Regions from separate parts of the Homo sapiens genome. Here region 2 is linked to region 1. The links are contacts of gene promoters, found by promoter capture Hi-C in blood cells and fetal thymus (Javierre and others, 2016). All regions are on one chromosome and are shown on one strand. The core of a region is centred on a gene start or on the middle of the fragment in contact, and the rest is flanking DNA. Distances in the headings are between cores, read along the strand shown.

Evidence for each region. Contacts are between HindIII fragments. The CHiCAGO score rates a contact against its expected background, and 5 or more counts as called.
Region 2: a contact is called between the fragment with the promoter of DENND1B here and a fragment that was not itself captured in region 1, in 2 of 17 cell types (M2 macrophages and fetal thymus). The highest score is 7.1, in M2 macrophages.

Annotation. Positions count from the first base shown.
Region 1 is chr1:198,683,663-198,689,310 of GRCh38, forward strand. All of the region lies in intron 2 of PTPRC (protein tyrosine phosphatase receptor type C), which reads left to right. Among named protein-coding and RNA genes, the nearest start is that of PTPRC-AS1, 19 kb to the left of the region's middle. The HindIII fragment of the contact is 7,286 bases long and covers 1-5,285 here.
Region 2 is chr1:197,771,935-197,777,120 of GRCh38, forward strand. It overlaps DENND1B (DENN domain containing 1B), which reads right to left and starts at 3,546. Exons shown (of 23, transcript NM_001195215.2): 1 at 3,205-3,546; 2 at 934-998. The coding sequence starts at 3,221. RefSeq lists silencers at 2,894-3,403, 3,554-3,753, 4,045-4,339 and an enhancer at 4,714-4,763. The HindIII fragment of the contact is 6,146 bases long and covers 2,040-5,186 here.

The DNA.
Region 1 (5,648 bases), core at 393-2,892:
ACCTACTAAATCAGATTTTCCAGCGCTGGAGCCCAGAAATAGTCACCTTTAATCTAATTCCCAGTCAGGATTAATACAAATAAAGGATTGATATTTTTTCTTCCTCAGGATAATAATACTGGTTACACACACATAAATATACATAACTGATAACAAGCCAGAATTTTGTAAACTATGTTCTCAGAAACATTGCAGTTACATTGTACAAATGTCCTATAGTATGTCCATGGGAAAAAAATGGGTTTGTGGCAAATACTTTTAGGAGATCTTGAGCTAAACGAAGTGACATAAGTTTCTATGCTTTTAATATATTAACACACTTTATAAATATCTCAAAAGGGCATGTAGCATGAATTACTTCTGAAACAAATTTGACTATGGGACATTTAAAGGCACACAAATCTAAATCAAAGACTTCAATTTGACCATCATTGCACAGGAAGCGATAAAATTTTCCCCCTGACTTGTAGATAAATAGTTTAAGACAGAAAAAAAGCAGTGTAACTGATTGTTCTTAAATGGTTATCTAGTAGCCTTTATTAATTTTTTTGTCATTAATTGTTTCGTTAATCAACATGCCTGAAATATATAACATGATGTTTTAAACCAAATATAAAATACCTACAAATGCATTCCTAGTTTTGAGGTGTGTGTTTGCAAAGTCATATGTATTCACAAGCAAAAAACATTATTGTAAATATTGGACACCATAAGTCATTGGGAGACAGCTAGATATGGTTGCTATCTTTAAAATTTTTTAATTATTTGATTTTATTCCTCTCATGGCCACAAAAATTTGCCTTCTTTATCCTCAATACTGCTTTACATACTGATATTTTTCTTTATTATTTGCATTATTATTTAAAAGTGTGTATATAATTTGAAAGTTTAAATAGTACCATAAGGCCTAGAGTAAGTAAGAACAGTCTTTTGCTCCCACGACTCTCCCCTCCCTTGATATTTTGTGATTTTTAAATGTTATCTTTTATTGTAGTGCTGTTTCTTTAAAACAAAAAAAAAGATTTTTGCCAGTATCTATTGACTTCTTCTCTTGATCTTGAGATGTTGCTTTTTATAACCTCTTGCTCTTTGTTCATGGGTGCAATGTTTTCTCATTTCTGAAAATATGAATTGTAGTTGGTTATCCTCTCTTTTGCTCCTTGCATTGCCTCATTCTCCCAAGTGCCTCTTTTGTTTATTTGAGCTCTATCTTTCTTTCTTATTAGAGGCTTTGTTCTAGTGTTTCTTGGATGTCCATTTGTATTTAATAAAAGGCCTCAATAAAGGGATGTTGAAATTCTTTGGACATTGGTGGAGCTCATAAATTCATGTGCTTTAACTAGATTGAATGAAATCAGAAAGGCACTACACTCACTGAGTCTTAGTTTCCTTATATATCAAATGAACTGCATGTCAATAATCACTAAAATCCTTTGCTTCTGTCTGAGTAGAAATCTTTGGAATTATTTTCTGATGATAAGCAGAAAGTCCTTTACTCATGAGATTCCAAAAATAATATTAATATACCCAATATTTTAACATAACGTCTACATAAAGAATAAGAAAATTATTAAATAGACACTATTTCAAATCTAGCACTTTCCTCGTGTGTGCCTGTGAGCAATTTACTAAACTCTTTTAGGTCCCAGTTTCATTCCCTATAAAAAAGGATAAATAATGCTAACTCATTGGCTTACTGGGATGCTTAAAAGAAAAAAAATACATATATATTATATAAAGAGGTGTGCATAGTGTCTGCTACATAACATTTCAGTAAACTGTTGCCATCATTATTATATTTACTGATAAGCTAATGGAGGGTAGAAAAGACTGTTTCCTGTGGTTCTCTGAAATCATAATACCTGGCTTGTCGCTGCCCAGAGTGCTTACTCCATAAATACTTAATAATTTAATATGATTTGTTAGATTTATTGTCTGTGGACCATATAGCAGATTTCTAGCATAAAAAAAGTGCAATTCTCTTATTTTTATTGTGCACTTTATTATTATCATGCATTGCTAAGAAAGGAAAGCCATACATATCTGTTTTAGCTGACCCTTATTTTTTGTCTTGATTTGCTTTTTTCCACTTTTGTACAGGCTTTATGTTTATGGAGGTCAAGTATGCATTCTCAACCTTCAAAACATGCTATCATTCATTTTAGGGCAGATGCTGAGAATAAGTATTTATTTAATCTATTCTATTTTACCCTTCTGCCCTTGTACTTTTCCCAGATTTGCAGAACTAGACAGGTTTAAATTCCCTAGGAAATAGCATCCCATTTTTTTTTCTTTTTTTTTTAGCGGGGAGGGAGAACGGGTGATATTTAAAGCCCAAGTATGTCTTTTGAAATGCCGTTTTCACTCAAATTGATTCCTAGTTTTTGCTGAAATCTCTGATCAGGGACTTAGGGGTGTGACTTCAAGGTAACTTTGATTTGTGATCATTTAAACATTTTGAGTTGTAAAAGAAACATATTGGGAAAGGTAAATTCAGTAACAATACATGTGTTAGAATAACACAGCTTTGAAGATCAAGTGTTCTGTTATCTACATTTTCATCTGTTTAATGTATCTAGTCAATTCCATTGGTGATTCACAACAGGATTATAATGGGAAAAAGAGCTCTTAGATAATTTACAGTTTTTTAGTGCTATGGTGCCACCTACTGAAATATTACTAAATACTCCTTTGACTAAATAATGAAAACACAAGACATTTAAGTTTTAAAAAATGTAGAAAATTTCATCCCTAGAAGATAAAAGTCAAAGTGTAGAATGTAGTAACTGTAATATGTGGAACACTAGATATATTACTGTGTTTTATTTTATATTTATTTGATGTGTTTATAGAATTTGAGAGAAAGCTCAATGCAGTTCTTACTTTGAGAAATAGTGATGCCTTCTCTTTATTGTCACACACCTACACATGTGCCCTCTTAATTTCCATTGCTATGTCACATATTTTGCTTTACCTATTTTCCACACTTTCCCAGTATTGTTCATAAAGAATGTTTACATATATTGTAGTGTAATTTGTATTAAACAATCTCCAAATATTAAATATTTATTGTGCACTGGTTATAAAATACTTTATGCAAAAATTTTGTTTGCTTTTCCCAGATCTATTTGACTCCACTAAGAATATATTGTTGCTTTTAAGTAATACAGGAAATAGGGTAGAGTACAAGGCTGTCTACATACATAAAACAACTTAGGTAACTACATCAGTTCATTTGTTTTGCATTGGACAAGCACAGTAATATTTAACCATATACTCCAGTCTAAATGGATAGGTCATGAAGTAGTTAAATATGTTATACAACCAATCTTTTGTTGTTGTTGTTGTTGTTGTTGTTTTTGAGTCAGGGTCTCACCCTGTCACCCAGGCTGGAGTACAGTGGCACCATCACATCTCACTACAGCCTCAACACACACTCATGGGCGTAGCCTCCCAAGTAGCTGGGACTATAGGTGTGCACCACCCTACCCGGATAATTTTTGTATTTTAAGTAGAGACGAGGTTTTGCATGTTTCCCAGACTGGATTGCTTGGTTCAAGCGATCCAGCTGCCTCTCCCTCCCAAAGTTCTGGGATTACAGGTGTGAACCATTGCACCTGGCCACAACCAATCTCATCAGGTCTTTTTTTTCTATCAGTGAAGATTCAGCACAGTGGCTTCTATCTATGATTTTGGTAATGTTTAATAATGTTTGCACATATGAAGTGCAACAGACAATTGAAGTCATTGCTCATGTAATTTAGGAAGAATTAAAATATGATAGAGAATTAATAAATTATTGCAGATATTTGGTTTTATAGTTTTCTCTAAATAGTTAAGTACCTTCACCTACTCCCTACCTTGTTTCATATATAAAGGCATTCTCCACCAAAGTATTTGTTAGTGTTCTGCTAACGTTGATGTAAAAATCATTAGATGACTGGGGGGGCGGGGTGTGGGGAATGTCCTTTAGATGTTACGTAGGTGTTTTAACTAAGCTATTTTATATAGGTCACATTTAGCGTGTTCCTACTTTAAGACTGGTAAAATGTTTAACATTAAAAAGACTGAAAAATAGATTTATGTAATCTAGTGCACATGGCTTATTAAAATTGATATGTTGCTTTAAGTTGCATCACTCTAGTGCATACCTTATTTCCTTAGGGGCATTGGCTTAAATTTTAAAGTAGTTTTTAATTTAAAATTTTTATTTTAAATAGATTCTATGTGTTTTTTTCAGGCACGAAAACATTTTTATGTCATTTATCATGTTGACTAAAAGTGTTACCAAAACTAAAAATCTGTTTATAGGGATTTTATGACCATGAGAACAAGCAAGTTGAGTCTTACACTAAGTCTAAACAGTGATGCTGAAGTCTTGGAATTTTCTTTTAAAAAGATAAAATGGTGTGTGGGGTGTGTGTGTGTGTGTGTGTCTGTGTGTGTGTGCACGCACATATTTGAAATAGTATATAAAAATGAAATAAAACATAGATTACAATGTTTTAGTGTCACCTAAAAATCACTCAGTGGAGGAATTTAGAATCATATCCAGTGATAAATCAGTGTACAAGCAAACACATATTCAATTCAAGAGGCCTTTATGGGAAGTAAGCATGAACATAGAAGAAAGGAAAATGTTGGCTCTTTAGATATTATACTGTTTTCCAGGATATTAAATTTTGCTGCATTAAAGATGAAAAGATTCGAGGAAATTTTGAATATGGAGCGATGATGAGATCAGAAAAAAATGTATATGTATGCCCATTATTCTGTCCTCTAGCTCCAGAAACCTCTTAACATCTAAACAAAAGGTCTGTAAATTTTAATAATTGTGCTTGATATTAGTGTAGTTTGGTTGACTTTCCTGTCAAAATAGTATTCTGTAATAAATTAACTTGACACACCTCTAAATTTTCTCTAATATTTGTTTGTACCATTATAGAGCATTCACTCAGCACATTGTGATTTAATCTGCATATCTATTTTTAGGGTCAAGGTTATTTTAGCATTTGTAGCACTACTAGTAATTTACTTGCAGCCAAATTATGATTAAGATGCATTTTTACTTAGCTCATGAGTTTTTAATAAACACCTTCTGTAAAAGAATTCTCATGCTTAAAATTTCATATGAAGAGGAAAGGCTGTAAGGACAAGTTGATGGGAAAAGGGGACGCCTGATGAATGAGAGCATGGCCTGTAAAGTCAGACAGGCTCAGGTTCAAGTCTGGCTCACATATACTAGACTGGCCTTGTGAACTTGGCCAAGACACTTGACTTTTCTAAGCTTCTTAGGGTTTTTGTGGTGCTTAAGAAAGAAAACATAAGCAAAAGACTTAGTATAGTGCCTGGCACCCAGTAAACACTCAATAAATATTAACAATTAATAACAATAAAATATTATTTCTAAATTATTCTTTAAAAAAGTAAATCATTAGAAACAGTCTTCTCCGTTTTGGTAATTTACCTCTTGTCCTTCTTTTCAGAAGTTAGATTAAAATAATATACATCATGTATTTCTTTTAAAAAACGTATTGCCTTTGGACCACTTGGAAGTTTATTAATCTCTCTGAGACATGGAACATATACGTAGTCTGATGAATAGTGTACTGGTTGGAAACAGTTCTAGTATATTTACTCAGGCATTC
Region 2 (5,186 bases), core at 2,296-4,795, 910 kb before region 1:
AATATGACAAAAGTGGAGGGAAATGATGAAAATCATGACATTAAAGTATTATGCTCTCATCTTTTCAGGAAATTGTACGGAACTGACAGCTGAAACCCTTCCAAGTAATTTCACACTATCGTTTACCTCCCTGCAAAAGTGCTGTGCTATTGGAGTAAATCCAACAGAAGGGGCTACTCAGTCTGCATTCTGCGTTCTGGAAACATCAGAAGGGAAGTGGTGTAGTTTCCATTGGTACTAGCAGGAGAATGTGCACTAATGTTTAAAAAAAGACACTAAATTTCCAAACATAAATGAAAGAAAATGAAAAGATTCGCCCTTTCACCAAAACTAATGATAACTTTACCAACGAATGGTGAAGCTGAGTTGTAAGTTATATGGGCTTAACAACACACCTGAAATTCAAGCTGCACTGATAACATTCATGATTTTTACAATCCCAGGGCAAAGACTTAACACCTATTTTATTACCAGCAACTTGAGACACTCAATGCAGAATACACATTTAGTAGTATTATTTTCCTATTACTACCATGTTCCAGCAGTCCACAATATTAACACTTGCTTTGACAGATTCAATCAATTATTTTAAGAATTAACAGAACAGGCCAGGCACAGTGGCTCACGCCTGTAATCCCAACAATTTGGGAGGGCAAGGTGGGTGGATCACTTGAGCCCAGGAGTTCAAGACCAGCCTGGGCAACGTGGTGAACCCTGTCTCCACAAAAAAATATACAAAAATTAGCTGAGCATGGTGGTGTGCATTGGTAGCTCCAGCTACTCGGGAGGCTGAGGTGGGAGGATCACCTGAACCCGGGAAGGAGAGGTTGTGGTGAGCCCTGATCATGCCACTGCACAGCCTGAGGAACAGAATGAGATCTTGTCCCAAAAAAAAGAGACCTTGTCAAATAACAGAACACAGAAGACACATACCTTCATTTTCAGAGGCATGACATTTCACTTTCAACACCAAGTCAAAGGTTCTGTCTGGATTTGCCCTAAAAGGAAAAAGTTTAAATTAATTTCCTATGACAAATAAACATCTCCATGAAACTTGTATTTTCTTAATTCTAAAACTAATCTTGTTTTTGTCTCAATACATTTCACGTGACTGTATTACTACAGTATAGTAGAAATAACAATGAAACTGTTTTCTCAATTGAGCAACTTAAAAGAGCTGAGACTTAGGAATTCTGAAACTTGGGGCAAAGCATTTAAACGCTGAGACTGTTCTCCCTTACCTATGAGGTGCCTTGTCCACTTCACAGAATAATAGTGAGGATTATAAATCAAATAACATATGTGCAAGTACTTCATTAAGTACTAAGTGCTACAAAAATGCAAAGTATTGGTTTTATCTTATTGGATCAAATTTAAAAGCCAGAGTGTCCCTAAGTGTCATTATACCCTGCCAACAGAGTTTGACACAGGTTCTCAGGCTGTCTCCAAAGGACTTGCAATATAAGTGTAAATGATGAATACATGGTTCCACCTGCCAAGTTCTAGATCACCATAAAACATTGATAATGCTCCATGAATGTGATACGTTGCATATACTTTTCTTAAAATGTATTTACTGTACTTATGCATATTTAAAGTAGCAAACTATTCATAGCTCTAAGGCTAGCAACATAAAAAGCCTTCTTTTTATCCATTATCTTTGGAGAAACCAGCCATCTGCTTCCATGTTAGATTTTCCCACTAGAAACTGTAAGTTTACTTTGCTTAATTCAGAAGTTATTGACTTTTTTACTAACTTGCCATATTTGCAAAATTTCAAAGCAACATTGGTTAAATTTCAAAAAGTGAACTGAAATATACTGAGACACTTTTTCTTCATAACATTGCTGTTTAAATCTCTCGTTCCATCATAAGGTAAAAGATTAAGTCTGTTACCACAACGGCCAATGTGTTAATATCTCAGTTATTCCTGCTAACAAGACCTTAGTGCCTTTGTACATTGGCTGTATTTAATATGTACTTCCTTCAAGAAACGAATGCCAGCTCTGACTTTAAAAAAAAGCATTTCTTTTTTTGGAAGCTTTTCTTATAAGATATGAATCTGGAAACATAGGAAGTGACAAGACATATAAATTAACATGCAAATATACATTTTTTTAGCCTTTCCGCTATTAACTTGTTTCAATGGGAATAATCTGGGCTCAGATGACTTCCTCCCTCTTAAAACAATTAATGTCAAGAAGCATACTATTTTTACTCACTTACCCTGCCCACCATGATGTCAAACACACTGAAGAAAATAATTCTATTACATAATTTCCCTCTTTCCCTAATATTCTTTAGAATTTCTCTTAGGTGTAAAAGTTAAATATTGACTCAGTTTTACTTCTGTGAAATTCAAACGGCCTTTCACAATAATACAAATATACATGGCATTATTTTAAACTTTTTGAGAAGGAGATAGTAAAGGGTGGGTAAGCGAAGTAAAAAGGAATTCTTTCCAAAGTTAAGTTTCAGAAGAAAAATATAAAACTCATGCCTCTAAGATACCTAGAAACAAAATCACCACCGTTATTAAAATTGCTTTTTACCTAATCTCCTGAGCAAAGTAGTCGTTGATAAATACTTTAGCACACACATAAAAGTACCCTCTAATTGGATACCGTTTTGCAAGAACCATGCATCTACAGTTGCTGCATAAAGAAACACCAGAGACCAATCTAATTTTATAAGCAGAATCATAAGAAAACATCCAAGACAAAAGTAACAAACGGACTTAAGAAAACACCGGTTATATTTAATGCTCAGAGAGCACTCGGAATAATAACCTCTTAACCTCAACGCTGACTCCCTCCCGGACACCACACGCACACAGGCAGCCCCAGGAGAGTCACATCTGACACACTCGGGGGAAGCACGAGAACCCCTCAGCGGCGGTGTCAGGGGCCGCCCGGCCTCCCCTGTCCCCCGAAAGGCGGGCGTCGACAAGGCGCTAGTGGCCTCTCCGGGAGGAGCCGCGCCAACCACGGAGGGCCGGGGACGCAGGGCGGGCAGGCTTTGCGGCCTAGCGCCGTCCCGCCGGCCGGCCAGAGGCTTGGGGGCCGGACCGCACCCCCAGCCCGCCCGGCCAACCTCGGCCGCCCGGGGAGCCGGTTGAGCGCGGAGGCGCGGAGGAGCCGAGCTGGCCTGGGAGGGGCCGCCGAGGGACGCCCGCCCCCGACGCGCCCGGGCCCCCCCACTCACTTGGTCCTGCAGTCCATGGTTACATGTCGGTGTGGGGCTGTCCGTCCGGCCCCCGCGCGCTGGCCTGGAAGCCCGCAGCCCGGCCGCGCGAGGGTCGCGCCGTCCCCGCCCACGCCGGCGGCCACACAGGGAAAGAGGCTGCTCACAGCAGCCGTGGCGGCGGGCCCATGTCGGCTGCGCCCCCGGCACTTCCCCGCCTCCCACCCCACCCACCAGAGCCTTTCTGTGACAGCAGCGGTGGCGTGGCCGCCGCCCCCGTCTCCGCCGGTAGCCGCCACCAAAGCTGAGGCCTCTCAGTTCCTGCGACCGGGGCCGCCCGCTGCGGCTCCTGCACCTTCTTGCAAATCAGGAAGTCGCCGGGAGGGGGAAGGGGCGCGCGGGGACGCGCCCAGCGGCTTCACCTGGGCCGTGCGGCTCGCAAGTCGGAGACTGTGGAGGAGGCGGGGGCCAGGTCCCCGCGCCCGGGCGGCCAGAGGGTGCAGGGGGAGCGCTAGTGCCTGCTGGGATGGCCCACGTACCGCTTTGCCACCTAGCCAGAAAGGCAAGGTGCCCCCTGTGTCCTCAGCATGAACCAAACCGGCTTCCTTTCTGGGTCCAGTCCAGATTCCAGGGCGTCGGGGCTGCAACCCCACAAAGGGCGAAGTACCTGGAAAAGTACCTCGACCTGCAGTGTTTTCCACACACATACACACGGACTTGGGTTCCTTTCATTTCATACTACAAATTCAGAGCTCAAGTTGATGCCCCTGGCTCTTGCGTCACTCCAGCTGTGGCCTGCTTACAGCTCTCTGAAATCCAGAGCTACCCCCTCCTGATTCAGGAATGTTCAGACATGTGCACCTGCTAAATAGCCCTGTCAAGTAGCCAAATGGTAGTGCCCCACTTGTCTGCGCATGTGGGAGGCAGACATTCCTATACCACAGACTGCAGTGATAACCAAGGACTAACTTTTGAACACATGTACATAGTCGCAGGCCTCATAGTCTGGCAGTTTAGGCGAGTTCAGAGAGGGCACCACTGAATAAGCGTGGGAGGGACTGATTTACACAGCCCTAAAGCACATGTGAAGCAGGTTATGTGCACTCTCACCCAGTACTTGTCATAGGTGTGTGATAGATACTTTCATCAGCATTTTACAGATGAAGAAACCAGGGAGTAATGGCAAAGCTGGAGTTCACACCAGGTCTATCTGATGCTGATTATTTACTTCTACCTCATATTGCCTGTCTCCCTCCTCTGCTGTCTCATATTTAGGATCTACTGAGAAGACAGGTAGAAAAGTCTTATGATGGACATTCAAATGACTGTGGAAGGCCAGGCTCTTACACAGAGATCTTCTGGGAAAGGCCTTCTCCCAGCTAACACTGCCACCCTTGACACATAGCCACAGTGTTTCTTCCAAAAGGTGGTTACTTCAGACTTTATTCATGCAGAAGTTAAGATGATGAGAGGAAACCAAATGTGGTATGAATGTAGTGTGAGTCATAAGACATAAAAGTCAGAAAAGGAGTCTTAAGAATTAAAAAACTCAAGAGTCAGAGAACCTGAAGTTGCACTCAGTTATATAACCTTAAACTTTCTTGCCAAAATTGGGTACTACTTGGTCAACAGGATCAGAAATATTGTATAGCCATGGGCCTGTTAGTAAAAAATGAGGACGGGCCATAACTGGGAAACAAACAAACAAAAAAAAAATGTGTTTATCATAAAGTGTTGTCATAGCTTGACTCGGGGTGAGACACTTCAGTTTCTCGGTTCCTACATTTGTAAAATGGGAATTATTACTTGTACATCACATGAGCAGTGTGATGTTCAAGTAAAACAGGTGCTACAAATTTGTATTATCTTTTGAGAAATTATTCTGTGAATTTCAGTTTCACAATTAGGCAAACTATACTACATAAGTTTTCTTTTCCCAAATAAAGATTTTTCTGCATAAGTGACCATACTCCAAAGCCTTGAAAAAAAAAATTCGTAAGCTA